Regions from separate parts of the Homo sapiens genome. Here region 2 is linked to region 1. Evidence: promoter capture Hi-C in 16 types of primary human blood cells and fetal thymus (Javierre and others, 2016). All regions are on one chromosome and are shown on one strand. The core of a region is centred on a gene start or on the middle of the fragment in contact, and the rest is flanking DNA. Distances in the headings are between cores, read along the strand shown.

What was found. The method cuts DNA at HindIII sites, captures the fragments that hold promoters and counts their contacts. A CHiCAGO score of 5 or more calls a contact.
Region 2: a contact is called between a fragment that was not itself captured here and the fragment with the promoter of HPN in region 1, in 3 of 17 cell types (total B cells, naive CD4 T cells and naive B cells). The highest score is 6.5, in total B cells.

What each region holds. Positions count from the first base shown.
Region 1 is chr19:35,040,471-35,043,170 of GRCh38, forward strand. HPN (hepsin) reads left to right here and starts at 1,251. Exons shown (of 13, transcript NM_001384133.1): 1 at 1,251-1,402; 2 at 1,983-2,052. The coding sequence starts at 2,037. RefSeq lists an enhancer at 1-722. The HindIII fragment of the contact is 15,827 bases long and covers 1-2,700 here.
Region 2 is chr19:35,237,047-35,239,984 of GRCh38, forward strand. No RefSeq gene overlaps it. Among named protein-coding and RNA genes, the nearest start is that of FAM187B, 9.8 kb to the left of the region's middle. The HindIII fragment of the contact is 5,085 bases long and covers 1-2,938 here.

The sequences.
Region 1 (2,700 bases), core at 1-2,500:
CCCGTCACCTTCCCCCCATTCCCGTCCCCGAATCTTCGAGCCCGCTTTCCAGGGACCCTACCTGAGGGCCCACAGGTGAAGCCACTTAGTGCCTGATCTGTGTCGGGGTTGGGGGAGCCATGGGCTCAGGGGTGAGGGAGAGTGGAACGGAGCCAGGAAGGGAGGGGGTGCCGTGGAGGGAAGAGAATCGAGGCTGATGCTGGGGTGCAGGGGTGGCATGGGGTGTGTGGTGTGCCCAGCAGTGTGAGTCTCTGGAGAGGTGGGCGCTGGGGAGAAGGAGAGGGAAGGAGAGACGGGTATGGATGGAAAGGCAGAGGAAGCCAGGCTAAACCAGCGTGTCCCAATGAGGGGCCCTGGGCTGAGTGGAGGAAATGGGTGCGGTGGAGGTGGGTTTGGCTGGGCACAGCGGGCACGTGTGGGTAAGCGGGTGGGGCCGGTTGTGCGGGTGGCCTATCTGGGGCAAGCAGCCGAGGCCGACTGTGTCCGGCGTGTGGTTGAGCACGGGCAGGTGTCTGGCGGTGACCCTGCACGTCTGGTGTTTACCTGGCCCTGGGTCTGACGTGGGCCGCGCCTGGCTGCTGGCGGGACAGTGTGTTATCTGCCTGCGGACGCTTCCGGCCACTTGGCCTGGGCCTCTGCCCTTAGCGCTGTGTTTTCCCGGCCAAGCCCCCCATCCCCCCTATCTAGTGCTAGGACTTTCTGGCTCCAGAGGTCACCGCGGCCGGGCGGAGGCTGCCAAAGCAAACCAGCCCCGTGACTTGTAGGAAGCCAGCGGGGGAGGGGCCGGGGCAGGATGAGCAGGGCAGGCGGGAGAGGCTGGGGCTGGGGTTGGGGCCCAGGAATTGGGCAGGGAATTAGGCAGAGGTGCAGCAAGTGGCGGGCACAGCCAGGACCTGGGGCTGGAGGACGCAGAAAGGGCGGGGGGAAGGGTTCGCTGGGTGAGGGTGGAGTGGGCTTAGGGCAGCTGGGGCCCTCCATCTGATCTCTTCTGGTCAGACCCCCACCCTTCAGCCTGCACTTTCTCCCTAAACCCCCAGCCTCCGGCCAGGCCTGTCCCTGTTCCCACATCCCCGCAGACAGGCACACCTGGGTCCCCCTGGAGGTCCAAGGCAAGCCCCGTAGCTGGGCCCGCCTGGTCCAGCCCCCACAAGCCCGGCCCCATCAGCCAGGTGGCCTCCAGTGCTGCCAATCGAATGGTCCGGCCCCTCCCCGCCCCTTCACCCGCCCCTCGCCCAGCCCCCTCCTCCTCAGGTGAGGCAGCCTGGCCTAGCAGGCCCCACGCCACCGCCTCTGCCTCCAGGCCGCCCGCTGCTGCGGGGCCACCATGCTCCTGCCCAGGCCTGGAGACTGACCCGACCCCGGCACTACCTCGAGGCTCCGCCCCCACCTGCTGGACCCCAGGGTAAGGACAAGGGCCCCCAGACTCACAGTTCCAGCCCTGAGGACAGGGGTTCCCTCATCCCCCCACCCAGCCTAATGCCCACCTCCTAATAGAGGGGTTCCTGGGGACCTGAAGAGGGGGCACTATGACGTCCCCCCAAGCACCTAGGTGTTCTGTCCTGCTCTTCCTTCAGACTCAGCCGTTGGACCCCAGTCCTTTCCTCCCCAGACCCAGGAGTTCCAGCCCTCAGGCCCCTCCTCCCTCATACTAGGGAGTCCTGGCCCCCAAATTCCTCCTTTCCCAAGACTTATGATTTCAGGTCCTCAGCTGTCTCCTCCCTCAAACCGGGATCCTCAGTCCCCTGCTCCACCAGGCTCAGGCATGGGGGTCCCCATCCCTGCAAATCCAGGCGTCCCCCCGCTGCTGGTCAGACACTGACCCCATCCTTGAACCCAGCCCAATCTGCGTCCGTGATCACGGCGTGCTCTGGCCAAGGCCCAGTCCCTACAGCCTGCCTGGATGGACGCCTGGGACTGGGGGCGCCAGGACTGGGCTGGGCTGGGCTCCCCCAGGCCCTGCCTCCCCGTCCATCTCCTCACAGGTCCCACCCTGGCCCAGGAGGTCAGCCAGGGAATCATTAACAAGAGGCAGTGACATGGCGCAGAAGGAGGGTGAGTCCCCTTCCCTGAGCCCCAGCTTTGGCTCTGCCTGGCGCCCCGCCCTCTGTGCTCTTTTCTCTACCCTCTACTCTTCGGAGCCCCCTCTCTCTGGGCACCCCTCCCAGATGCATCCCCACCCCTGTTAGTCCTCCTCCACCTGATTAACTATTAACCACATTTTCTGTGCAGCTGTGCCACCACCAGCCTCCCTTCTACCCTATGTGACCTTCCTGGCGTGCTGCCTCAGTTTCCCCTCATCCCCCAGTGATTTCTCAGCTAACTCTGGACTTGTCCTCTGCTGGGGCTGAGGCGGGGAAGCTGTAGCTGTCATGGTTAAGGACACAGATTTGGAGTGAAACACACAGGCTTGCATTTGAATTTGCTCTTGCCATCTTTTTTGCTGTGTGATCTGGTGCAAGTGACATTATTCTTAGGGCTTTGGTCTCCCTCTGGGTCAAGCATGGATACCAGTCCTCCCTCTGTGAGGTTGCTGAGTGCATGACACACACCAGGCACTGGTCTGGGGCTCTGCATATAAGACGCATGCCATCAAGCAGAGCTGTCATGACAGAGGTTGGCAAACTCGGAGTCCCAGAGACCCAGGACCCCCACCGATCCCAGACATTCCTCCACCTCCTGGCTCTGTGGGCAAAAGAGCAG
Region 2 (2,938 bases), core at 288-2,787, 200 kb after region 1:
ATCTTAGTGGCTTAATAAAATTTTTTTTCATGCGACATGTCCAAATTTGGCTGGGGAGAGCTATACTCCACAAAGTCCCTTCAGATACTGTGGCTAACAGAGGTGGTACCATCTGCAACATCATTAGTTGCTATGGCAGGATAAGGGAGTATAGCAAATCATGAACTGGCAATTGAATGCTTTGGTCAGTGATATGGTTTGGCTGTGTCCCCACCCAAACCTCATCTCATATTGTAGCTCTCATAATCCCCACGTGTCATGGGAAGGACCCGATGGGAGGTAATTGAATCATGAGAGCAGGTTTTTCCCATGCTATTCTCATGATAGTGAATAAGTCTCACAAGATCTGATGGTTTTTTTCTTTCTTTCTTTCTTTCTTTTTTTTTTTTTTTTTTTTTTGAGGGAGAGTCTCACTCTGCTGCTGCCCAGGCTGAAGTGCAGTGGCACGATCTCAGCTGACAGCAACCTCTGCCTCCCTGGTTCAAGCGATTCTTGTGCCTCAGCCTCCTGAGTAGCTGGAATTACAGATGTGCACCACCATGCCCAGCTAATTTTCATATTTTTAGTAGAGAGGGGGTTTCACCATGTTGGCCAGGCTGGTCTTGAGCTCCTGACCTCAAATGATCCACCTGCCTCGGCCTCCCAAAGTGCTGGGATTACAGGCATGAGCCACCATGCCTGGTGAGATCTGATGGTTTTATAAAGGGCAGTTCCCCTACACACAGTTGCTTGCCTGCCGCCATGTAAGACACGCCTTTGCTCCTCCTTTGCCTTCTGCCATGATTATGAGGCCTCCCCAGCCATGTGCAGCTCTGAGTCCATTAAACATCTTTTTCTTTAGAAATTACCCAGTCTCAGATATTTCTTCATAGTAGCAAGCAAATAGACTAATACACAGATGGTAAACAAATAAATGACTAATAAAACATCAGGTCATGGTAAATGCTTTGAAGAAAAAAAGAAGGCGCAAAGAGAGATTGGGGATGGAGACTATTAGGGGATGAATTATGACCCCACAAGTTCATATGTTGAAACACTGACCCCCAATACCTCAGAATATGACTGTATTGGGAAACAGGGCTTTTAAAGAGGTAATTAAGTTAAAATAGGGTTGTTAGAGTGGGTTCTAATCCAATATGACTAGTGCCCTTAAAAGATGAGGGAATTAGAACCCAGGCAGAGGGATGACCATGTGAGGACATAGTGAAAAGGGAACCATCTGCACACCAAGAAGAAAGGCCTCAGAATGAAACCAAACCTGCCAACACCTTGATTTTGGACTTCTAGCTTACAGAATTGCGAAGAAATAAATTTCTGTTGTTTAAACCACCCAGTCTCTGGTGTTTGTTATGGCAGCCCTAGCCAACTAATATAGAGACTATTTTATTTTTATTTATTCATTTGTTTTGAGACAGGGTCTCATTCTGTCACCCAGGCTGGAGTGCAGTGGTGTAATCATAGCTCACTGCAGCCTGAAACTCCTGGGTTCAAGTGATTCTCCTGTCTCAGCCTCCTAAGTAGCTAGGACTACAGGGACGTGCCACCATGCCTAGCTAATTTTTAAAATTTTTGGTAGAGATGGTAGACTGGATAAAGAAAATGTATACACCATGTAGAGGCTTGTCTTAAACTTACAGCCTCAAACTATCCTCCTGTCTCAGCCTCCCAAAGTACTGGGATTACAGGTGTGGGACACCATGCCCAGCCTGTGGGGAGAGAGGTAGGTGAGAAGAGAAGGCTTCTCTGAAGAAGTGACATTTGAGCAGACCTATATAAGATGGTTATGAAGATTCACACAGCGGCTCATGCCTGTGATCCCAGCACTTTGGGAGGCTGAGGCAAGTGGAGCACCTGAGATCATGAGTTCAAGACCAGCCTGGCCAACATGGTGAAACCCCATCTCTACTAAAGATACAAAAATTATCCAGGTGTGGTGGTGCACGCCTATAATCCCAGCTACTCAGAAGGCTGAGACAGGAGAATTGCTTCAACCTGGGAGGTGGAGGTTGTAGTGAGCTGAGATTGTGCCACTGCATTCTAGCCTGGGTGACAGAGTGAGACTCTGTCTCAAAAAAAAAAAAAAAAAAAAAAAAAAATCCAGAGAAAGCAAGGTCTGAACTAAGCACACCGCACATGCAAAGGTCTTGAGGTGGGAACAGGTTTGCTATGTGAATACCCATCAGCCAAAGACAATCAGGCATGCACCTATGAACAAAGTTAGGTTTTTTGACTTGCTGCAGTGAGGGCAGATGTACACCATGGGGAATGGTGTGGTGTCTCAGGAAGGTGTCAGAGAAGACTAACAGAATTTGGGCTGTGTTGTATGATTGTGGGAAGGATTCAAAGAAGTGGGGATTTGCTTTGGGTTGGGTGCTATCAAAAAGTGTAACCAATTCTTTTTTTTCAAACTTTTGATTTTAAGTTCAGGGGTATGTGTGCAGGTTTCTTATAGAGGTAAATTTATATCATGGGGGTTTGTTGTACATATAATTTCATCACCCAGGTATTAAGCCTAGTACCCCTTAGCTATTTTTCCTGATCCTCTCCCTCCTCCCACACTCTACCCTCTGATAGGCTCCAGTGTGTGTTGTTCCCCTTTATGTATTTGTGTTCTCATCATTTAGATTCCACTTATAAGGGAGAACATGCGGTATTTAGTTTTCTCTTTCTGCATTAGTTTGCTAAGGATAATGACCTTCAGCTCCATTCTTGTTCCTGCAAAGGGCATGATTTCATTCTTTTTTATGGCTGCATAGTATTCCATAGTGTATATGTACCACATTTTTTTAATCCAGTCTACCATTGATGGACATTTAGGTTGATCCTATGTCTTTGCTATTGTGAATAGTGCTGCAATGAATATAAGTGTGCATGTGTCTTTATGATAGAACAATTTATATTTCTTTGGGTGTATACCCAGTAATGGGCTTGTTAGGTT